4 separate regions of the Homo sapiens genome follow, and regions 2, 3 and 4 are each linked to region 1. Evidence: promoter capture Hi-C in 16 types of primary human blood cells and fetal thymus (Javierre and others, 2016). All regions are on one chromosome and are shown on one strand. The core of a region is centred on a gene start or on the middle of the fragment in contact, and the rest is flanking DNA. Distances in the headings are between cores, read along the strand shown. Region 1 holds the start of ZNF559 (zinc finger protein 559). Region 2 holds the start of ZNF426 (zinc finger protein 426). Region 3 holds the start of LOC105372268 (a long non-coding RNA gene). Region 4 overlaps ZNF121 (zinc finger protein 121).

Region 1 (5,688 bases), core at 868-3,367:
GTCTCTACTAAAAATACAATTAGCCGGGCGTGGTGGCACACGCCTGTAATTCCAGCTACTTGGGAGGCTGAGTCAGGAGAATCGCTTGAACGCAGGAGGCAGAGGTTGCAGTGAGCTGAGATCACACCACTGCACTCCAGCCTGGGACAGACAGACTCCGTCTCAAAAAAAAAAAAAAAAAAAAAAAAAATCAGGTGAATAGTCTAGTTAAAAAACAGATTTAACAGATCTAAAAACATGCAAACAACCTGGCAACTATAATGGTGACTATGGTGACTTTTGGACAGCTGGGGAAATCTGATTTGATTTGGGGGTGGGGATGGACAATGAAGTCTTGTTTTAAGCTTGTCTTCACTTTCAGGAGGTATTTGAGATACACGCTTAAAAGGGGAAAGTTCATTCACTTCCAATTTAAATGGCTCATGATAAAGTACATATACAAAAAAATGAAACAAATCTTAACAACTAGTGAATGTAGTTAAGGGTTAAAGACTTTTTTTTTTTTTTTTGGAGACGGAGTCTCGCACTGTTGCCCAGGCTGGAATGCAAGGGTGCAATCTTGGCTCACTGCAACCTCTGCCTCCCAGGTTCAAGCGATTCTCCTGCCTCAGGCTCCTGAGTAGCTGGGATTACAGGTGCCCACGCCCGGCTAATTTTTTGTATTTTGAGTAAAGACGGGGTTTCACTATGTTGGCCAGGCTGGTCTCAAACTCCTGACCTCGTGATCCGCCAGCCTCAGCCTCCCAACATGCTGGGATTACAGGCGTGAGCCACCACACCTGGACTAAAGACATTTGTTTTACTCGAGCTACAGATGTTCTCTAGATCAGTATTTGTTTTTTTTTCTTCTTTTTGAAACAGGGTCTCACTCTGTTGCCTAAGCTGGAATGCAGTGACACAATAATGGCTCACAGCAGCCTCGACCTCCCATGCTCAAGTGATCCTCGCATCTCGGCCTCCAAAGTGGATGGGACCACAGACACCACCATGCCCAGCTAATTTTTTATTTTTAGTAGAGACAGAGGCTTGCCCTATTTTTTCCAGGTTGGCATCAAATTCCTGGGCTCAAGCGATCCTCCAGCCTCAGCCTCCCAAAACGCTGGGATTACAGGTGTGAGCCACCTTGCCCCGCCCTCAGTAAGACTTTCAAATGAGTAACTGGTAGAAAACCCACCTGTCAAAAGTTATCTTCGCATTCATTATCAATTCAATCCCTCCTGCTAGTAAATCAGCCCGCACCGTGTTCCTGGGGATGCCCTCGTTTTGAACCTCTGGGGGAATCTACAGGGCGCTAGAGTGAGATCTAGGTGATGGCCTGGAACCACAGTTGAGTAGTCCTGTGTTTTTCCTTGGTGGTAAATTTTACAGTTATGTGCATTCATCCACTCATGCATTCGATGGTATCAGATCCATGTGCTCTCGAACAACCACCTGAAAAGGTTTCTTTCCACCTCGACACAACTTAAACTTCAAGACCCGACACCCACAGCCAGAACAAGTGCATGAAGTGCTCACCGGGACACGACAGAATTGTCAGGTTGCTGAGGCCAGGAGGACACCAAGCGAAGGTCACCGTGAACAGGAAGGCAGAGATGCTGTTCCTTATAGAGAAAAGGCACAACGCTGGATGTGGAGACTTTTTTTTTTTTTTCCATTAGAGATGGTTGGGGGGGGGGGTCTCCCTATGTTGCCCTGCCTGGTCTTGAACTCCTGGCCTCAAGTAATCCTCCTACCCAATCCGCCCAAAGCGCTGGGAATGACAGGCGTGAGCCGCCGCGCCGGGCCCTATGAGGCTTCTGCAGAGGGGAGCAGGGAAAATGGAAAGGCCGTGCCCCCCGCCTCCTCCCGGGCCGAGGCCCCAGCGCAGCCGCCTCGACCCCTGAGGACAGACCTGACTGTGGCTCTCAGAGGAGGGGCCGCGACTTGGGAGAGCCCACAAGATGCTCGAAATGCCCGAAAGTGCACGGGACAGGCTCCATTTCACTGGGCACCTCCCCTTTCCACCCTTCTACTCTCGCGTGGCTGCACCGGGACACCACCGAACGCCGCCCAGAAACAAAAACTTACCTCAGACGCCAACGGGAACGCGCTGTTAAGATGGCGGCCGTTATGCGCATGCGCCCACGCAGACACGCCGCGCACGCGCAAAGGCTAGGACCACCTAGGGGGCGGGGCCTCGGGTTCCCGGGCCCATCAGCTGCTGCGGCTTTTTCCAACCCAGAGCTGAGAGGAAATGCTGTTTACCTCCCCGAAGAGCGCAAGTGTCACCGGTAGGGGGTCTTGACTGCAAGCTGTCCAGGTTACTGGCGTTTTGAACAAAGAATTAGACAAAACGCCCAGCAAAGCAAAGAAAGAATGAAGCAACAAAAGAACAAGAGCTGGGATTTGTTGAAAACGAAAGCATACTCCACAGTGTGGGAACTGGCCAAGCGGCAGCTCAAGGGCTCCGAAACAGAACCTTCATGAGTCCCAATACCTCCTAGAATTTTCCCATTGGCCACTTCATGCTCACCTCCTGTAAATGAAGCGGTAGCCCGCGTTCAGTCTGATTGGTTGCAGAAAGCAGCCAACCAGAGTCTGAAGTTACAAAGGTCACACTCCTGTGCAAACATCTGATTGGTTGCAAAAAGCAACCAATCAAAGGCTAGGGTGAAGTTACGACGTTACAAAGTTACACTTCTATGCAAATGAAGACTCAACCGGCCATCAGTCTGATTTGTTGCAGACAGCCAATTTCCTATCTGCCAGCAGAAAAGGTCAAAGGGAGTAGCCTCTGGTCCTTTTGTTATTTAGGCGAGGAAAGTGAGGGTTTTCCTTTCAATTTAGTTCTAGGAAGTCGGCCTGAAACAGCCTTAAGTTCCCTGCCTCCCGACTCTATTCAGCCTCACAAGGGCTTGATTTTTGGTCATCTCACACTCAGAGACTAGAATGCTCCTATTGGAATTTGTTCAAAAATTAGCACATAGAGGCTGGGCCTGATGGCTCACGCCAGTGATCCCAGCACTTTGGGAGGCTGAGGCAGGCAGACCACTTGAGCTCAGGAGTTCGAGACCAGCCTGGGCAATATGGCAAAACCCTATTCCTATAAAAAAGACAAAAAACACAAAAATTAGGACGTAGTTAAGAGCATAGATAAGATTCATGCGGACTTCCTAAAAGTGAAAACACCAAGATCTGGGGTCGGGGAATCTAAGGCCAATTCGTGATAATTTCCTAAAGTTAAATCAAAGGAAAAACACCTGGGGCTGGGGGCAGGGCACCTAAGGCCAATTAACACAAACTTCCTGAAGCTAAACCAAAAGGAAAAACCCCATCTCCCCAAGATCAAAGACTACTCTCTCTACAGTAAAAAGTAAAGTAGAGGTTCCTCTTCAAAGACTTTCCTGCCCATCTAATTAGGAATAAATAGTAACTTCTGTTAGAAGCAAAATTTATTCAAAGACCTGTACTAATGTGTCCGGAATTGGTGGGTTCTTGGTCTCACCGACTCCAAGAATGAAGCCGGGGACCCTCGTGGTGAGTGTTACAGATCTTAAGGTGGCACGTCTGGAGTTTGTTCCTTCTGATGTTCGGATGTGCTCGGAGTTTCTTCCTTCTGGTGGGTTCGTGGTCTTGCTGGCTCAGGAGTGAAGCTGCAGACCTTCGCGGTGAGTGTTAGAGCTCTTAAAGCGGCGCGTCTGGAGTTGTTCATTTCTCCCGGTGGGCTCGTGGTCTCGCTGGCTTCAGGAGTGAAGCTGCAGACCTTCGCGGTGAGTGTTACAGCTCATAAAAGCAGTGTGGACCCAAAGAGTGAGCAGTAGCAAGAGTTATTGCAAAGAGTGAAACAACAAAGCTTCCACGGCGTGGAAGGGGATCAAAGCGGGTTACCACTGCTGGCTGGGGCAGCCTGCTTTTATTCTCTTATGTGGCCCCACCCACATCCTGCTGACTGGTAGAGTCAAGTGGTCTGTTTTGACAGGGCGCTGATTGGTGCCTTTACAATCCCTGAGCTAGACACAAAGGTTCTCCACATCCCCACTAGATTAGCTAGCTACAGAGTGTCGACACAAAGGTTCTCCAAGTCCCCACCAGAGTAGCTAGATACAGAGTGTTGATTGGTGCATTCACAAACCCTGAGCTAGACACAGGGTGCTGATTGGTGTGTTTACAAACCTTGAGCTAGATACAGAGTGCCAATTGGTGTATTTACAATACTTTAGCTAGACATAAAGGTTCTCCAAGTTCCCACTAGACTCAGGAGCCCAGCTGGCTTCACCCAGTGGATCTTGCACTGGGGCTGCAGGTGGAGCTGCCTGCCAGTCCCGCGCCATGCGCCCGCACTCCTCAGCCCTTGGGTGGTCGACGGGATTGGGTGCCGTGGAGCAGGGGGCGGCACTTGTCGGGGAGGCTCCGGCTGCACAGGAGCCCACGGAGGAGGAGGCGGGGGAGGAGGGGGTAGGAGGGGGAAGGAGCGGGGGGTAGGGCAGGGGGAGAGGAGGGTGGGGGTGGGGAGGGGGGTGGGGAGGAGGGTGGGGGGGAGGAGGGCGGGGGGAGGAGGGGAGGAGGAGTGGGGGAGGAGGGTGGCAGGGGGGAGGAGGGCGGGGGGGAGAGGAGGGCGGGGGGGAGGAGGGCGTGGTGGCGGGGAAGGCTCAGGCATGGCAGGCTGCGGGTCCCGAGCCCTGCCCCACGGGAAGGCAGCTAAGGCCTCGCAAGAAATCGAGCTCAGCGCCAGTGGGCTGGCCCTGCTGGGGCACCCAGCACACCCTCCGCAGCCATTGGCCCGGGTGCTAAGACCCTCATTGCCCGGGGCAGGGACGGCTGGCTGCTCCGAGTGCAGGCCTGCCAAGCCCACGCCCACCCGGAACTCCAGCTGGCCCGCAAGCACCGTGCGCAGCCTGGTTCCCGCTAGTGCCTCTCCCTCCACACCTCCGTGAAGCTGGGGGAGCCGGATCCAGCCTTGGCCAGCCCAGAAAGGGGCTCCCACAGTGCAGCGGTGGGCTAAAGGGCTCCTTAAGTGCCGCCAAAGTGGGAGCCCAGGCAGAGGAGGCGCCGAGAGCGAGCGAGGGCTGTGAGGACTGCCAGCACACTGTCACCTCTCACTAACATTCTTAAATATCTGCTAGCTGTAATAAAGAAATCAGTGTACTTTATGTTCTTAGCTCCCACAATTTAGCCTAAATATTTGCCCTGGCATGCTTATACTGGTCCAAGCAAGCATTAGGTCATAGTCTGTTCCTCTTCCTTATCTGAAGGTGTTTTTACCTTTCTCAGCATCCCACAAGTTACTTCCTCCATCCTTTGTTCTCCTCTGCCTTTGCCTCTTTTAAAAAGTCCTAAGTTGCTAGCCAATCAGGACAAATACAGAATGGAAGGTCCTGTTCTAGCCAATGGAAACTGATAAGCCTCCTCTAATCTCCCCCACCCAGAAAGAAACAAGCAAAGAAATCTCCAAGGTACCACAGCCCCCACCCCCCCCCCGCCGGCTATCGGTTTTGTCCCCTTCAAGCTGTAGGGAGAGGGGAATTTGGCCCAACCCGGGTACATGTCCCCTTCTCCCTCTCTGATTTAAAGCAGATCAAGGTAGACCTGGGGAAGTTTTCAGATGATCCTTATAGGTATATAGATGTCCTACAGGGTCTAGGGCAAACCTTCAACCTCACTTGGAGAGATGTCATGCTATTGTTAGATCAAACACTGGCCTTTAATGAA
Region 2 (5,908 bases), core at 2,818-5,317, 210 kb before region 1:
AGTCTTCAGCTGCTAAGCCGAGAAGATCTGGGAAGGAGTCAGTCAGACAGCCTTGGGCCAGAGTTCCAGTGGCTCTGGTAGTGGCTGCCAGGTGAGTTGGACAGTCCGATTTCAAGTGGGGTCCCACAGATGGGACATGGCTTAGGAGGAATCCTGGGCTGCGGGCATTCCTTGGCCCAGTGGCCAGATTTCCAGCACTTAAAGCAAGAACCTGAGGGAGGAGGTCCTGGAGGAACACCTGGCCTCTGTGGTTTAGGCATTTTGAAGTTCTTATGTGCTGGAGATGTGGCTGGGGTTTATCTCACAGCAGAGGCAAGTAATTGCAACTCAGAAATACAACGCCACTTGGCTGCCTCTTCTCTATTATTGTACACCTTCAAGGTGAGGTTAATTAAGTCCTGTTGTGGGGGTTGAGGGTCAGAATCTAATTTTTGGAGCTTTTTCTAGTCTTGGGAGCAGATTGGGTAATAAAATGCATATTGAGAATAAAATGCATATTGAGAATAAGATGGCCTTCTGGCCTCTCTGGTTCTAGGGTGGTAAACTGTCTAAGGGTTGTTGCCAAACAGGCCATGAACTGGGCCGGGTTTTTATACTTGATGAAAAAGAGCCTAAATGCTAACTGACTTGGGAGAGGTTGGATGAAGAAAAAGGAGCATTAACCTCGACTATGCCTTCAGCTCCAGCCACTTCTCTAAGAGGATATTGTTGGGCAGGTGGGGGAGGGCTAGTCATGGAATGAAACTGTAAGCTGGACCGGGTGTGAGAAGGGGAGGTGATAGAAAGATCACAGGGTAGGGAGCAGAGGCTGAGGAAGAATTAGTGAGAGGTGACAGCGTGCTGGCAGTCCTCACAGCCCTCGCTCACTCTTGGCGCCTCCTCTGCCTGAGCTTCCACTTTGGCGGCACTTGAGGAGCCCTTCAGCCCACTGCTGCACTGTGGGAGCCCCTTTCTGGGCTGGCCAAGGCTGGAGCCAGCTCCCTCAGCTTGCAGGGAGGTGTGGAGGGAGAGGCGCGAGCGGGAACTGGGGCTGTGCATGGTGCTTGCGGGCCAGCTGGAGTTCCAGGTGGGCGTGGGCTTGGCGGCTGCACTCGAAGCAGCTGGCCGGCCCTGCTGGCCCCAGGCAATGAGGGGCTTAGCACCCAGGCCAGCAGCTGCACAGGGTGTACTGGGTCCCCTAGCAGTGCCAGCCCACTGGTGCTGCGCTTGATTTCTCGCCAGGCCTTAGCTGCCTTCCCACAGGGCAGGGCTCAAGACTGGCAGCCCGCCATGCCTGAGCCTCCCACCCCCTCCATGGGCTCCTGTGCAGCTCGAGCCTCCCTGATGAGAGCTCCCCCCTGCTCCATGGTGCCCAGTCCCATCAACCACCCAAGGGCTGAGGAGTGCGGGCACATGGCGCGGGACTGGCAGGCAGCTCCACCTGCAGCCCCAGTGCGGGATCCACTGGGTGAAGCCAGCTGGGCTCCTGAGTCTGGTGGGGATGTGGAGAACCTTTATGTCTAGCTCAGGGATTGTGGAAACACCAATTGGCACTCTGTATCTAGCTCAAGGTTTGTAAACACACCAATCAGCACCCTGTCAAAACAGACCACTCGGCTCTACCAATCAGCAGGATGTGGGTAGGGCCAGATAAGAGAATAAAAGCAGGCTACTGAGCCAGCAGTGGCAACCCCCTTGGGTCCCCTTCCACGCTGTGGAAGCTTTGTTCTTTTGCTCTTTGCAATAAATCTTGCTACTGCTTACTCTTTGGGTCCATGCTGCCTTTAAGAGCTGTAACACTCACCGCAAAGGTCTGTAGCTTCACTCCTGAGCCAGCGAGACCACAAACCCACCAGAAGGAAGAAACTCTGAACACATCCGAACATCAGAAGGAACAAACTCCAGACACGCCGCCTTTAAGAACTGTAACACTCACCGCGAGGGTCCACGGCTTCATTCTTGAAGTCAGTGAGACCAAGAACCCACCAATTCTGGATACGTTAGGACCTGGCTCAGCTTGGCGAGGAGCAGCCTGAGGGGGAGGGGAGAGGTCAGATGGGTCCATAGAAAAGGAGGATTCAAAGGACAAGAAAGAAACAAGAAAGATTTGGGATGAGTCACATTGGGAGCAAAGACTAGGGACGGACCAATGTGTAAAGAATGCCTGGATGTCAGGCATCTCAGACCATTTGCCCATTTTATGACAAAAATTATCTAGATCTTGTAGGATGGAGAAATCAAAAGTGCCATTTTCTGGCCATTTAGAACCATTGTCAAGTTTGTACTGGGGCCAAGTGGTGTTGCAGAAGAAAATAAGGTATTTAGGTTTTAGGTCAGGTGTGAGTTGAATAGGTTTTAAGTTCTTGAGAACACAGGCTAAGGGAGAAGAACAGGGAATGGAGGGCAGAAGATTGCCCATAGTGAAGGAGGTAAGTTTAAAGAGAAAGGTAGAGACATGGAGAAGGCAGTGGAGTGGGGTGGGGGTGAGCAGCCCTGGGCTGTAATGTGGGTAAGCAGCCAAAGCAGGCAGCCCTGCAATTGACTTGCCACCAAGGGAATGTGGGTGAATGATCAAGGCAGGCATCCCCACAGTGATCAGACACCAATGGAATGTAGGTGAATAATCAGGCAGGTATCCCTACAGTGATTAGCCACCAAGGAAAGACTGTCTTCCTGAGTCCGTGACTGGAGCTGGAGTTTTGGGTCCACAGATAAAATGTGTCTCCTTTGTCTCTACTGGAGAGGAAAAAGAACTGGAATTGGAAGGACAGAGAGATGGAAGGGTAGTGAGAGAGGCTGGAGAAGAGAGTGAAGAGACTGCTTACCCAATTTGAAATTGGTGAGATGTTCCTTGGGCTAGTCTGAGGACCCGAGGTAGTAGGTGGAGCTCCTCACGGAGTGAGGGTGAGGACGGGGCCAGTCTCCCAAGGGAGTCCCCCTGTCCCAGGTTTCGGAACCAAATGTTACACACATCCATGTGAAGAGACCACCAATAGGCTTTGTGTTAGCAACAAGGCTGTTTATTCACTTGGGTGCAAGTGGGCTGAGTCCGAGAAAGGGGTCAGCAAAGGGAGATAGGGGTGGGGCAGTTTTATAGGATTTGGGTAGGTAGTGGAAAGTTAAAGGTGGTTATCTTTTGCTGGCAGGGCCGGGGGTCACAAGGTGCTCGGTGGGGAACTCCTGAGACTCGTCCAGAAGAAGAATGTCACAAGGTCAAGAGATCAGTTGGGGTGGGGCAGCAACAAATCACAATGGTGGAACGTCATCAGTTAAGGCAGGAACTGGCTGTTTCACTTCTTTTGTGGTTCTTCAGTTGCTCCAGGCCATCTGGATGTATACGTGCAGGTGACAGGGTTTATGATGATTTAACTTGGGCTCAGAGGCCTGACAAGTAGTTCAAGACCAGCCTGGCCAGCATGGCAAAACCCTGCCTCTACTAAAAATACAAAAATTAGCAGGGTGTGGCAGCATGCACCTGTAATTCCAGCTACTTGGGAGGATGAGGCAGGAGAATCGCTTGAACCTGGGAGGTGGAGGTTGCAGTGAGCTGAGATGGCTCCACTGAACTCCAGCCTTGGTGACAGAGTGAGATTTTGTCTCAAAAAAAAAGAAAAGATGTTTTAAAGCAAGGCAGAAAACCTAGAAATTATTTTTAAAAACAATTCTTTTAGCTGCATAGAAAATGTTTTTTACATCAAATGTTGAAATAGTAACAGAGCAAAAGACGTAGTTACCTATTTTCTACATGCATAACACATTGGCTCCTTCCCCTATGGCCGCCCTGCTGCGGCCTCGCCCACAGGCCTGGCTATAACTTCAACCTTTTCCTCTGGGCCTGGACCCACATTCCTCCCCGCCCCCTGCCCGTAGCCCTGCCCACAGGCTTGGCTCTAACCTCGACCTTGCCTTCTGGACCCATTTCTGCCTGCAGCCCCCACGCTGAGCCCACCCCAAGGTCCTCCGCAGCCAAGCAGATGGAAAGTAGAATTTTTCTGCCTCGAGGAGGTATTACACGGCAGAAACCCTAGTCCCGAAACCCCGCCTGGCCCGAGGCGGAGAGCGTAAATGACGTCAGCGGTGCGCCGTTCCTTTTGTGACGCCGGCTGTGAGCGCCTGAGAGTCTTTTTGCCTTTCAGAGTTAAGGCCTCACTGGCCTGGGTGAGTTCCGAGGAGATGAACTGGTTTTGGGGTGAAGGACGGGTTTGGCCCGGACGTTAGAGAGGCCTGGCCCGCTCTGCTCGTGTCTGCTGGGCCCGCTAGCGTCCGCTCGGACCGTCGCTCCTCGGGAGGAGTCGGGTTTATAGTTACGGTGTCCGCAGGGTGTTTTCATCTGTGCGCCCCTCTCCAAAGGCCTCCAAAGCAGCGTTTGTGAATTTTTTTCCGGCAGGAAAATAATTGCTGCCTTTTGCATCCGCGTTGGCTCCGTCCCCAGGATCTTCCCGGTTCAGGGACCTGGCGATTTCTGAGTGTTCCGGTGAGCACTGGGTGAAAGTTGGTTCTAGGGGGCCTTTTCTGTCTTCTCTTATGCAAACGAATGTTTCATCTGTAAGTTTGGTTTCGTCTTATTGTGTTGTGTTTTATTTTTGACCATTACTTTCATGGCGAAAGATAAAGATGCTTTTTAGGTTTATAGGGTGTGCGTATTTGTGTATGTGAATATAAACGTTTGTAGACCGCAAGTCTTTCTGCTAAAGAATACTAAGAATAATAATTCATTATCTTCGAATGGAGTTCCTAGGCCTGTACATCCCAAGAGAGCTTCTTAATCAGACCTCCAGAGGGAAAGGATGAAGGCTTTATTATTCTAGTATCACAATAATCAAATTTACAATGAACAGGATGGTTGGATTAAGGAGTTTGAAACCAGCCTGGCTAAGATGGTGAAACCCCGTCTCTACTAAAAATAGAAAAAAAATTAGCCGAGCGTGGTGGTGGGGTCTTGGAATCTCAGCTATTTGGGAGACTAAGGCAGGAGAATCACTTGAACCCAGGAGGCGGACGTTGCAGTGAGCTGAGATCGTGCCACTGCACTCCAGCCTGGGAGACAGAGTGAGCCTCCGTCTCAAAAGAAAAAAAAGAGAAACGAAGGATGTGTGCATTTTAAGCTACATTGATTGTATATCAATGAAAAAAAAAAAAAGCTGGCTGGGTACAGTGGCTCACACCTGTGATCCCAGCACTTTGAGAGGCTGAGGCAGGAAGATCTCTTGAGCCCAGGAGTTTAAGACCAGCCTGGGCAACATAGCAAGACTCCATCTCTCCAAAAAAAAAAAAAAAAAAAGAGTTAAATATTCTATACAGATGCCACCAAACTGAATATTTGTGGGCCTAGTCAGCCCTAGGACCCCTAGTTTGAGACCCCTGGGAGTAGGTGTGATCTATACCAGGAGTCCAGAACTGTGGTTTTTGTGACTTTAGGGTTTTAGTCTTATTGGTAGAAGGAGGCCTATAGAGTTTTTGTGAATTTGGTTCATGGATAATGAACTGCGGAACTTTCACTGTTTATCATCATTTGACTCCCATTCTGTAGGTGATTGTTTGAGCCACTGTTTCATGTTTGATTAATTAATGATTGTCATTATTATTATTATTATTTTTTTTTTGAGACAGAGTCTTGCTCTGTCACCTAGGCTGGAGTGCAGTGGTGTGATCTCAGCTCCCTGCAACTTCCATTTCCCAGGATCAAGCGATTCTCCTGCCTCAGCCTCCTGAGTAGCTGGGATTACAGCCGCACACCACGCCCGGCTAATTTTTGTATTTTTAGTAGAGATGGAGTTTCACCGTGTTGGTTAGGCCGGTCTTGAACTCCTGACCTCATGATCTTCTGGCCTCAGGCTCCCAAAGTGCTGGGATTACAGGCGTGAGCCACCCTGCCCAGCCAAATAAAACCAAACTTTGGTGGAAAAAAATTAACCAGATAAATACTATG
Region 3 (5,757 bases), core at 1,625-4,124, 190 kb before region 1:
GTTTAAACCCAGGAGGTGGAGGTTGCAGTGAGCCAAGATTGCGCCACTGCACTCCAGCCTGGGCGACGAGCGAAGCTCCATCTCAAAAAAAAAAAAAAAAAAAAAGAAGAAGGTGAGGTAGGGGCTGGGCCTAGTGGCTCATGCCTGTAATCTCCGCACTTTGGGAGGCCAAGACAGGAGGATCACCTGAACCCAGGAGTTCACAACCAGCCTGGGGCAACATAGCAAGACTCTGCCTCTTAAAAAAAAAAAAAAGATCAGATAGGGACGTAGTACTAATCTCTTTCTGAAACTGAATGCTTGACATCTCCAAAGAATTCAGTGACCAGCAAGGGAATGTCCCAGTAAGCTTCGCTGGTCACATAGAAATGGAAACGGAATGAGTGCAGCAGCCTGACATTAGCAGCCTTGTGGCTTTACCTATTGGCAGCTACATCTTTTGGAAAAACTTTATCATAATTTTATCATGCATTTCTCCACCTGAAGCTAAGCTGCTGGCTCAAGGGGACCCTTATTTTCTGGCTGGGCCTCTTCAGTCATGATTGGAATAAGCTGAAAGCTGAATGTGTCCACTGGGTTTCTCCAGGCATCCAGCCTTGGAGTGCAATGGTGGGATCTTGGCTCACCGCAACCTCCACCTCCCAGGTTCAAGCGATTCTCCTGCCTCAGCCTCCTGAGTAGGATTACAGGCATGCGCCACCACGCCCGGCTAATTTTTTTGTATTTTTAGTAGAGGCGGGGTTTCTCCATGTTGGTCAGGCTGGTCTCGAACTCCCAACCTCAGGTGATCCACCCACCTCAGCCTCCCAAAGTGCTGGGATTACAGGCATGACCCACCCTGCCCAGCTCTGGAAGCCTTTCTGTATCACTCTTGTTGCAAATAAGATAATTCATTTTGGGGATACATTCAAATAAATGACATGAAGATGAAATTGTCTTTCTGTTTGTCCTATTCTCAGATAAGACGTGTGGCCCCTTAGTTTTCTGTGGTGGTTTTATGTGATTAAATTTGTTTTTGAAAGAGTTTCTGAATATATTACTTGTTCTGTTATGCACATTTTATAAATTAGCACTTTCTTCATGACTGCAGTTGTAAACACTTTCTCATTTGCATTATATGTTCATTTAACAGTGAGCGTGTGTTTAACTGCCAAGATAAGTTTTTTTGTTTTTGTTTTTTCTTTTTTTTTCCATAAAATCCAGATTCTGCAAAACTTGGGGATTTTTTGGTTTTGCTTTGAGATGGAGTCTCCCTCTGTCACTCAGGCTGGAGTCCAGGGGTGCAACCTCTGCTCACTGCAACCTCTGCCACCTCACCTGGCTGTCATGAGGGATTATTAATAGATGCTTTTAGATAGTCCTCTCTAGTGTCATTGATAATTGGTCATACCATGGGTCTACATGGAATTTCTTTTCTTTCCTTTTTTTTTTTTTAAGGTGTGCACTTTCATTCAACTGCTGTCAAGTCAGTGTACAGGTAAGCCCTGGCTGCCTCCATTCCTCCACCCACCCCTAGGGAGACCAACAGCCTTTATACATCTCAAGTTGGGGGACAAAAATGGGGGGACATGATGGCTGATCATTCAAAATTAAAAATACAAAGGCAAAGATTTAAAAAATTTTATATAATTTACACAAAAGCAATGCTATCACCACCCCATGTGAACTTGGGAGAGGACTGGGCATTCTCCTTAGAAATGGGGTGGCTTTTGGGAGGGCAAGGGACTTCCAGTAAGAATGCACCTCCCAGCCGGGCGAGGTGGCTCACGCCTGTAATGCCAGCACGGGAGGCTGAGGCAGGTGGATCATGAGGTCAGGAGTTCGAGACCATCCTTGCCAATATGGTTAAACCCCATCTCTACTAAAAATACAAAAATTAGCTGGGTGTGATGGTGCACCTGTAATCCCAGCTACTTGGGAGGCTGAGGCAGAAGAATCGCTTGAACCTGGGAGGCGGAGGTTGCACTGTGCCAATTTGCACCACTGCACTCCAGTCTGGGCGACTGAGTGAGACTCTGTCTCAAAAAAACAAAAAAGAGAATGCACCTCCCGATATTTGGAATGACTATTTAAAAAAAGAACAATGTATAATCAAAGTCCTCAGCCACATTGTAGAACGTTTGGGATTCTTCGCTCCAACTAACTGCTGTCACCTTCACCATTCCAGGTTTTAAATCTTAAGCCAAAAAAAAAAAAAAAAAAAACCAATCTTATTTTCTGCATAAATTAGGTTTTTGTCAAGAAAGGTTATAATGTAAGTCACCGTCCGCCTAGAAGTATTTGTGGTAGGGTGGACAATACTGAGGCCGGACTCCTCGTATTCCTGCTTGCTGATCCACATCTGCTGGAAGGGGGACAGCGAGACCAAGATGGAGCCACTGATCCATACAGAATATTTGTGCTCAGGAGGAGCAATGATGTTGATCTTCTTCATGCTGGGAGCCATGGTGGTGATCTCCTCCTCCATCCTGTCAGCAATACCAGCGTACATGGTGGTGTCACTGGACAGCACTGGGTTGGCATCCAGGTCTTTGCAGATGTCAATGTCACATTTCATGATGGAGTTGAGGGTAGTTTCATGGATGCCACAGGATTCCATGTCCAGGAAGGAAGGCTGGAAAAGTGCCATGGGACAGCGGGGACCGCTCGTTGCTGATGGTGATGACCTGGCTGTCAGGCAGCTGGAATCTCTTCTTCAGGGAGAAGCTGGAGGCCACGTGCAGGGACAGCAGAGCCTGGATGGCTATATACATGGATGGGGAGTTGAAGGTCTCAGACATGATCTGGGTCATCTTCTCATGGCTGGCCTTGGGGTTCAAGGGGGCCTCGGTCAGCAGCACCGGGTGCTCCTTGGGAGAAACATGCAGCTCATTGTAGAAGGTGTCGTGCCAGGCTGAGCACAGAGGCTCATGCCTGTAATCCCAGCACTTTGGGAGGCCGAGGTGGGTGGATCACTAGGTGAGGAGATCGAGACCATCCTGGCTAAGACAGTGAATCCCCATCTCTACTAAAAATACAAAAAATGAGTCGGGTGTGGTGGCGGGTGCCTGTAGTCCCAGCTACTCAGGAGGCTGAGGCAGGAGAATGGCATAAGCCCGGGAGGTGGAGCATGCAGTGAGCCGAGATTGCGCCACTGCCCTCCAGCCTGAGCAACAGAGCGAGACTCCGTCTCAAAAAAAAAAAAAAAAAAAAAAAGGTGTGGTGCCAGATCTTCTCAATGTCATCCCAGTTGGTGACAATGCTCTGCTCGATGGGGTATTTCAGGGTCAGGTTGCCTCTCTTGCTCTGGGCATCTTCACCCACGTAGGAGTCCTTCTGACCGATGCCCACCATAACGCCCTGGTGCTTCAGATGCCCCACGATGGAGGGGAAGATGGCCCGGGGGGCATTGTCGCCCACGAAGTTGACCTTGCACATGCCGGAGCCATTGTTAACTACAAGCACCTCAATATCATCATCCATGGTGAGCTGACAGCGGGCGTGTATAGGCGGCAGAGTGGCCAGGGCAAGGCTTTGTGCTCGCGGGATAGATGCAGTCTCAGCGGTCGCATTTCTTCTTTAAAAAAAAAATAAAAAAAAATAGAGATGATGGGGGGCCGGCCACAGTGGCTCACTCCTGTAATCCCAGCACTTTGGGAGGCGGAGGCAGGCAGATCACGAGGTCAGGAGATCGAGACCATCTTGCTAACACACTGAAACCCTGTCTTTACTAAAAAAATACAAAAAAATTAGCCAGGCGTTGTGGGGTGCCTGTAGTCCCAGCTACTCAGGAGGCTGAGGCAGGAGAATAGTGTGAAACTGGGAGGCAGAGCTAGCAGTGAGCCAATATCGCTCCACTGCACTCCAGCCTGAGCGACAGAGCGAGCCTCTGTCTCAAAAAAAAAAAAAAATAGAGATGGGGGTCTCACTATGTTGCACAGGCTGGTCGAGAACCACTGGCCTCAAGAGAGCCTCCTGCCTTGGCCTCCTAAAGTGCTGGGATTACAGGCATAAGCAACTGCACCTGGCCTTTATTTTATTTTATTTTATTTTAAGACTGAGGCTTGCTCTGTTGTCCAGGCTGGAGTGCAGTGGCGCGATCTCAGCTCACTGCAGCCTCTGCCTCCTGGGTTCAAGCAATTCTCCTGCCTCAGCCTCCCGAGTAGCTGGGACTACAGATGCCTACCACCACGCCTGGCTAATTTTTGTATTTTTAGCAGAGATGGTGTTTCACCATGTTGGTCAGGATGGTCTCGATCTCCTGATCTCGTGATCTGCCCACCTTGGCCTCCCAAAGTTCTGGAATTACAGGTGTGAGCCACTGCGCCTGGCCCTTTATTTTTATTTATATATATTTTTTGAGACAGAGTTTTAGTCTTGTTGTCGAGGCTGGAGTGTAATGGCATGATCTCAGCTCACTGCAACCTCTGCCTCCCAGGTTCAAGTGATTCTCCTGCCTCAGCTTCCTGAGTAGCTGGGATTACAGGCACGTGCCACCATGCCTGTCTAATTTTTTGTATTTTTAGTAGAGACGGGGTTTCACCATATTGGGGTGACAGGCATGTCTGGAACTCCTGAACTCAGGTGATCCACCTACTTCAGCCTCCCAAAGTGCTGGGATTACAGGCATGAACCATCGCGCTCAGCTTCCTTATTCTTTTATTTATTTATTTTTGAGGTGGAATCTTGCTCTGTCACCAGGCTGGAGTGCAGTGGTGCAATCTTGGCTTACTGCAACCTCCACCTCCTGGGTTCAAGCGATTCTCCTGACTCAGCCTCCTGAGTAGCTGGAACTACAGCTATTACTACAGGCGTGCATCACCACACCCAGCTAATTTTTAGTAGAGATGGGATTTCACCATGTTGGTCAGGATGGTCTTGATCTCTTGACCTCGTGATCCACCTGCCTCGTCCTCCCAAAGTGCTGGGATTATAGGCGTGAGCCACCACTCCTGGCCTCTTTATTCTTATTTATAAGAAAATTCTCTCTGACCTCGCAGGTCAAATAATAGCTAGTTGTCTTCTCAATATTCATTCTCCCCTACTCCCCTCCCTTTTTTTTTTTTTGAGATGGAGTCTCACTCTTGTTGCCTAGGGTGGAGTGCAATAGTGCAATCTCGGCTCACCACAACCTCCACCTCCCAGCTTTGAGCAATTCTACTGCCTCAGCCTCCCAAGTAGCTGGAATTACAGGCATGAGATACCATGCCAGGCTAATTTTTTATTTTTAGTAAAGATGGGGTTTCTCCATGTTGGTCAGGCTGGTCTCAAACTCCCAGCCTCAGGTGATCCAACCACCTCAGCCTCCCAAAGTGCTGGGATTACAGGCATGAGCCACCATGCCTGGCCACTGGATGAGTTTTTACAACATACTGGAAAAATCAGGTCAACTATATGCTAGTGAAGCCATTAAAGCTTCTATCTAGAAGGTGGTTCAGTGTCTGTGGGTAAAAGAGGAGAGAAGTTAGTCATGGGGCAGATAATAAGTGGCCTCAAGAACATGTCTGAATTCCTGTTTTGAGTCTCCTTCCCTAGTGCTACCAGCCCATCCATCATCCTCCTGCGATATCCATCCTGGTACATTCTTGAAGATGCTCATTGCCTGAGCCAGAATATATGAGTGATGTTTTAGAACTCCTTGACCTTCAAGTAAATGGCAGTAGACTTATTGTTGGAGGAGTGGGTATTACTGGACTTTGTTTGGGAAAACCTGTACAGAGACATGTTGCTGGAGAACTTTAGAAACTTAACCTTGATGGAGCAGGCTGGCCTTGTTCC
Region 4 (6,363 bases), core at 3,439-5,938, 230 kb before region 1:
AGGTGTGAGCCACCACACCCAGTCCAAAAAGTGATTTTCTAATTCCATAGTTTCTTCTACATTTCTTAACTGGAATTTTGTAAGGAAGAGTTATCCTTATTCATTTATTTACCCATTTACTTGTAGGAGCATGTATCATAAATTCTTAATCTATGGGGTGTAGTTAGCTACTGTAAATTTGATGCACATATTTTTCCAGATTCAATAAGTAGGATCCCCATCAAGCTATCTTCTGAATCTTTAAAAATGTATTCTCCTTATTTCATGGGTATATAATTATTTTCTGGGCAACAGTTTGTTCATGGTACATTTGTCTCCAGCCCTAGACTCAGAAAAATGTAATTTATTTTAATGGAGAATACTATTTAGAAGCTGCAGTCTCTGTGTAGGGAGGTGTTCCTAGGTAATAGTGCCCTGGCTTTTAGGTCTTCTCTATGGAGGATATGGCAAAGACATACAAAATTATATATACGTATCCACACATTAATAACTCTATTTCTATATTAAAAACATGACCACAAGCCAACACTTTTAATTCCACTGCAGCACTGCTGGGTTATTTCTTGCTTTCCAAATTCCCTTGTCTGTAGCTATCTTTCATCACTTGCAAAAATAGCACGTGCTCAATCCTAGATTAAAATATAAGCTACTCTCAGAATTGATAACTCATACCACTCTTTTTAAAAATCAACTAACCAGAATTCAGTTTTTATTCACAGTTCTTATCTTTAGCTCAGGGCGTAATATAAAAGCACTAGGTTTAAAACTTACTTGGTCAGCAGCAATCCACTTCTAGGTACATGTCCAAAGGAACTGAAGAAAGCATCTCAATGTGTGAATGCCTACCTGTGTTCATTGCAGCATTATTCAGAAGAGCCAAGAGGTGGAAGCAAAGTAAATGTCCATTGACAGATGAATTGGTAAACAAAATGCATTATATACATACAATGCAATATCATTTAGCCTTAAAAACAAAATTCTGCCATATGCTACAACATGGACGTTATGCTAAGTGAAATAAACCAGTTCCGAAAGGACAAATACACCCATTTCCACTTATATGGGGTATCTAACGTCAAACTCAGAAGAACAAAGTACTGCGGTATTTGCCACAAGCTGGTGGAGGAGAAAATGAGTTGTTCAATGGGTATTGAGTGTCAGCCACGCAAGATGGAAAAGCTTTTTGAGATTTGTTGTATAAAAATATGCCTATAGTTAACAATACTCTTCGGTACACACAAAGTATGTGAAAGGGTAAATTTTATGTGTTTTTATCACAATAAAAATTGTAATAAAAGAAGTTACTTGGGTCAATTTTGTGCTTTTTACCCCCCTCTTCATTGTTGAATTTTTATCCATTTGATACAAAGTTCATTTCAGTAATTCCTGTTAATTTTCCATTTTGTGTCACACCGTTATCCTTGTCGATTTTTTTTTAAATTAGATATGTAAAACAGGCCAGGCATGGTGGCTTATGCCTGTAATCCCAGTACTTTGGGAAGCCGAGGTGGGCGGATCACCTGAGACTGGGAGTTGGAGACCAGCCTGGCCAACATGGTGAAACCCTGTCTCTACCGTAAATACAAAAATTAGCCAGGCGGCTGGGTGCCGTGGCTCATGCCTGTTATCCCAGCACTTTGGGAGGCCGAGGCAGGCAGATCACAAGGTCAGGAGTTCAAGACCAGCCTGGCCAATATGGTGAAACCCCATCTCTACTAAAAATACAAAAATTAGCTGGGTATGGTGGCAGGCGCCTATAGTCCCAGCTACTCAGGAGGATGAGGCAGGAGAATCACTTGAACCCGGGAGGCGGAGGTTGCAGTGAGCCGAGATCGTGCCACTGCACTCCAGCATGGGTGACAGAGTGAGACTCTGTCTCAAAAAAAATAAATAAAAGGCTGGGTGTGGTGGCTCATGCCTAAGTGGGCAGATCATGAGGTCAGGAGTTCAAGATCAGCCTGGCCAACATAGGGAAACCCCGTGTCCACTAAAAATAGAAAAATTAGCCGGCCGTGGTGGTGGGTGCCTGTAGTTCCAGTTACTGGGGAGGCTGATGCAGGAGAATTGCTTGAACCCCAGAGGCAGAGGTTGCAGTGAGTCAAGATTGCACCACTGCACTCCAGCCTAAGTGACAGAGCGTGACTGTCTCAAAGAAAAAAATTAGGCGTCATGACACCCACCTGTAATACCAGCTACTTGGGAGGCTGAGGCAGAAGAATCGCTTGAACCTTGGGGGTGGAGGTTGCAGTGAGCTGAGATTGTGCCACTGTACTCCAGCCTGTTAGAGAGTGAGACTGTCCCAAAAAAATTAATATGTGAAACAATAGTATGTTTTATTTTATACTGGTTTATCTTTTTTTTTTTTTTTGAGTCAGGATCTTGCTGTGTCACCTAGACTGGAGAGCAGTGGCATGATTGTACCTCACTGCAGCCTTATGCTCCTGAGCTCAAGCACTCCTCCCACTTTAGTGTCTCAAGAGGCTGGGAGTACAGGCATGCACCACCAGGTGCAGGCAGTTTTTAAATTTTTTACCCTTATTTTTTTTTGAGACAGGGTGTTGCTCTGTCACCCAGGTTGGAGTGCAGTGGTGCAGTCATAGCTCCCTGCAGCCTCACACTTCTGAGATCAAGCAGTCCTTCTCCCTCAGCCTCCTGAGTAGGTAGGACTACCAGCGTGCACCACCAGGACTGGCTAATTTTAAATTTTTGTAGAGACAGGATGTGGCAATGTTGCCCAGGCTGGCCTCAAACTCCTGGTCTTAAGGGATCCTCCCATCCTGGCCTCCTAAAGTGCTGGTGTAACAGGCATTAGCCACAACGCCCACCTAATTGCATACTTTAAACATTAGAACTAAACATAAACGTTTTTCTTGCCTTATCCTTTCCAGTCTGTTCTAATCTCACTGTCCTTTACAACCTGTTCCTATCCCATCAGCTATAGGTAATGAACCTTTTTCTCTGAATAATCCTGTGTTTTCTTCTAGCAAAAATGAACATATATATATTTGTTATTGCCCATTTAAAAAAAGATTTCAGGCAGGTACGGTGGCTCACGCCTCTAATCCCAGCACTTTGGGAGGCTGAGGCGGGTAGATCACAAGGTCAGGAGATCGAGACCATCCTGGGTAACACGATGAAACCCCCTGTCTACTAAAACTACAAAAAATTTGCCAGGCGTGGTGGTGGGCGCCTGTAGTCCCAGCTACTCGGGAGGCTGAGGCAGGAGAATGGCATGAACCCGGGAGGCAGAGCTTGCAGTGAGCCGAGATGGCGCCACTGCACTCCAGCCTGGGCAACAGAGTGAGACTCCGTCTCCAAAAAAAAAAAGTTTCATACTATACTCTTGCAGTTTCTATTTTTGCCTAACAGTGTATCTTGATAACCACTCCATATAAATTCATAGATATATCTTCCTTTTTCACCTTCATTCTGTAGCTGCATAATACTCCTTTTGTGGATGTACCATGTAATATTCAGCTGCTCTACTACATGTCATCAATTAGAGAATTCAAATTTGCAATTACTAACAGGGATGCAGTTAGTATTCTTGAGCATGTGTATTTTTGTATATTTAGGCATTTACATTCAGGACAAATTCCTAGAATTAGGATTGCTGGATTAAATAGGTAGTATATTAGACATTGACAAATTCTCTGTGCTAGGCAGCCTCCAAATTGGCCTCCAGTTTCTGCTTCCTGGTATTTGAGGACTACCCTTGTGTAATCCTCTCATACTGTACTATGATTGATATGTGTAACCACCAGAATATGGCAGAAGTTCTGGTAAGCCAGTTCTGAAATTAGGTTATGAAAGCCCACACATAACTGGAGCCCCAGTATTAAAAACAATTTTAAAAAAGAGCAACTCATGCTTCCTGATGTCAAAAGTTACTATAAAACTACAGAAATCAGGCTGGGCATGGTGGCTCCTGCCTGTAATCCCAGCACTTTGGGAGGCCGAGGAGGGCAGATCAAAAAAAATGTGTTCATAAAAAAATGAACACAATTTTTTTTAAGTTCACATGACAATTCTTTTATAAATTAATTGGTTTTAAAGTTGTCGATAAAATTAGATATGTCTTCAAAATTGTCAGCATATATTTTTGTCTGGGTTTACTGGTCTGACAGTGTTGTGTCTGTCTCTATTAGATACTTTAAGTTCATGAAGCTAAACCCAATCTAAAACAATGATCTTTGTGCAATTCTTTTATAAGTGAGATTTACTTAATATTTTTGATTTAATAACAATAGCTATATCTTCTGAGTTATTGACAGAATAACCATGTATTTAGTGTAGGGTTTGAACTTTGGTAAACAATATTAACAGGATATAAAATTGGTTAATAAAAAATAATTTAAAACAATGACTAGCTGTGTCAAATCTTAATAAGTAATCTAGGTGTAATTAGAAATTAAAGGTAACTGTAAATGGAATAAATGTTTATAAATAAACTTTTCATGTAATTTAAAATCTTAAATAATATTAATTATCTGGGTCATATCCAAATAAGATATAAGGCAAACAAATTACTGAAAAAATATATATTCATTCTTGGCTTCTTAAAATTTCTTTCTTTTTTTTTTGAGACGGAGTTTCACTCATCACCCAGCTGGAGTGCAATGGTGTAATCTCAGCTAATTGCACCCTCTGCCTCCCAGGTTCAAGCAATTCTGCCTCAGCCTCCCGAGTAGCTGGGTTTACAGGTGCCCACAACCATGACAGGCTAATTTTTGTATTATTAGTAGAGATGGGGTTTCACCATGTTGGCCAGGCTGGTCTTGAATTGCTGACCTCAGGTGATTCACCTGCCTTCACCTCTCAAAGTGCTGGGATTACAGGCATGAGCCACCGTGCCCAGCTGGCTTCTTAAAATTTCTAAAAAGAGTAGATATATTTTGGTCTATTACTCCAAATACAAATTTAGGAAAAAGTAATTTTTGTGTGAGAATCTTATGTGGTAAATTTTTGTCCTAAGGTAAAATGATTGGTTGTACCAATATAAAAGGAGAAAACTGTAAGTCTAAGACTGAAGGTTTAAGAAAATGATTAAACGTCTAAACAATTTGAATAGGATTTATAAAAGATAAGCCTTACCGACAGTTTATTGTATGATTGTGTTGGCTAGGATTGAAAAGAAATTGTACATAGGATATTTTTTTCCTAAAAATTAAACAGTGGTGTTGGGTGCACTGATACAGGACCAGAATCTGGTCCTCTATATTGAAAACAAGAAGGTGTGTTTTTTTTTGACATATTTATCTGCACTTAATAAATTTGCAAGACGTTTTGTTTGTTCGTTCTAAAATCTGTTAGTAGCCATCTTCTAAACTCTAGTTTCTATTTCGGCCACATTTTTTCCTGAGATCGATTTAATTTCTGTAGTTTTCAGGTTTTAAATGCTGTCCTCATCATTTAAAACAGTAATTTTATTTATTGAGGTGGAATTTCATACAGTTAAAAAAATTTGTAGAGATGATGATGTGGTTTGGATATGTGTCCCCACCCAAATCTCATGTTCAGCTGTAATTCCCAATGTTACAGGTTGTTCCTGGTGGGAGGTGACTTGATCATGGCGGGGTGGATTTCTCATGAGTGATTTAGCACTACCTGCCTCGGTACTGTCCTCGTGATAGATAGTGAGTGAGTTCTTGTCACTCGATTTGGTCGTTTAAAGGTGAGTAGCACCTCCCCCTCTCTCCTGCTCCTGCTTCGGCCATGTGACATGCCTGGTCCTCTGCATTCTGCTATGATTGTAAGTTTCCTGAGGCCTCCCCAGAAGCCAAGCAGATGCCAGCAACATACATCCTGTCCAGCCTGCAGAACTGTGAGCCAATTAAACCTTTTTTCTTTATAAATTACCCACTGTTAGTTATTTCTTTATAACAATGCGAGAACAGACTAATAAAGATGGCATCTAGCTATGTTGCCCAGGCTGGTCTCAAACTCCTGGCCTTAAGTTACTCTCCTGCCTCATCCTTCCAAAGTGCTGAGATTACAGGAACGAGCCACCAAAACCAAAACCAGCCAATTTGTTGAGGTAGAGTTTTGTTTTTTCAGATTTCTCATTCATGTCTCAGAGGCTCAACTTTACTTGCATCTCAGTGTATGTCATTTGCAGGTCATACATCATTGCCTTCTTTTTTTCACATTGAGAAGGTCTGGGATGATGACTGTCTCCAACTTTTTTGTCTGCTCCTGTAAGTTTTTTCTTTGGTTCTAAATCGGCTATTATGGCCTGACACTGAAATATTTATCATGAAGGCCTAGAAAAGCAATGTATTTGCTCTGTATAACTTGATTCTGTACTCTCGGCTTTTCTTGATGTACCTAAATTTTTACACTCATAGCCTTGGACATATTCCT

The links. Contacts are between HindIII fragments. The CHiCAGO score rates a contact against its expected background, and 5 or more counts as called.
Region 2: a contact is called between the fragment with the promoter of ZNF426 here and the fragment with the promoter of ZNF559 in region 1, in 17 of 17 cell types (fetal thymus, naive CD8 T cells, total CD4 T cells and 14 more). The highest score is 14.6, in fetal thymus.
Region 3: a fragment that was not itself captured here is called in contact with the fragment with the promoter of ZNF559 in region 1 in 1 of 17 cell types (fetal thymus); the score reaches 5.7 in fetal thymus.
Region 4: a fragment that was not itself captured here is called in contact with the fragment with the promoter of ZNF559 in region 1 in 5 of 17 cell types (activated CD4 T cells, naive CD8 T cells, naive CD4 T cells and 2 more); the score reaches 7.5 in activated CD4 T cells.

The regions. Positions count from the first base shown.
Region 1 is chr19:9,320,608-9,326,295 of GRCh38, reverse strand. It overlaps ZNF559 (zinc finger protein 559), which reads right to left and starts at 2,117. Exons shown (of 7, transcript NM_032497.3): 1 at 2,068-2,117; 2 at 1,516-1,601. ZNF559-ZNF177 (ZNF559-ZNF177 readthrough) reads right to left here and starts at 2,117. Exons shown (of 13, transcript NM_001384659.1): 1 at 2,068-2,117; 2 at 1,516-1,601. RefSeq lists a silencer at 1,714-1,853 and an enhancer at 2,024-2,273. The HindIII fragment of the contact is 3,488 bases long and covers 347-3,834 here.
Region 2 is chr19:9,536,804-9,542,711 of GRCh38, reverse strand. It overlaps ZNF426 (zinc finger protein 426), which reads left to right and starts at 4,067. Exons shown (of 8, transcript NM_024106.3): 1 at 4,067-4,137; 2 at 4,367-4,453. ZNF426-DT (ZNF426 divergent transcript) reads right to left here and starts at 4,046. Exons shown (of 2, transcript NR_134921.1): 1 at 3,714-4,046; 2 at 2,982-3,306. RefSeq lists enhancers at 1,846-3,045, 3,700-3,769, 3,970-4,019, 4,026-4,761. The HindIII fragment of the contact is 12,585 bases long and covers 1,703-5,908 here.
Region 3 is chr19:9,515,855-9,521,611 of GRCh38, reverse strand. LOC105372268 (a long non-coding RNA gene) reads left to right here and starts at 772. Exons shown (of 3, transcript XR_001753862.2): 1 at 772-1,477. It also overlaps the pseudogene LOC100418883. The HindIII fragment of the contact is 5,045 bases long and covers 352-5,396 here.
Region 4 is chr19:9,555,266-9,561,628 of GRCh38, reverse strand. It overlaps ZNF121 (zinc finger protein 121), which reads left to right. Exons shown (of 4, transcript NM_001008727.5): 4 at 1-1,300. Among named protein-coding and RNA genes, the nearest start is that of ZNF426-DT, 20 kb to the right of the region's middle. The HindIII fragment of the contact is 7,013 bases long and covers 1,182-6,363 here.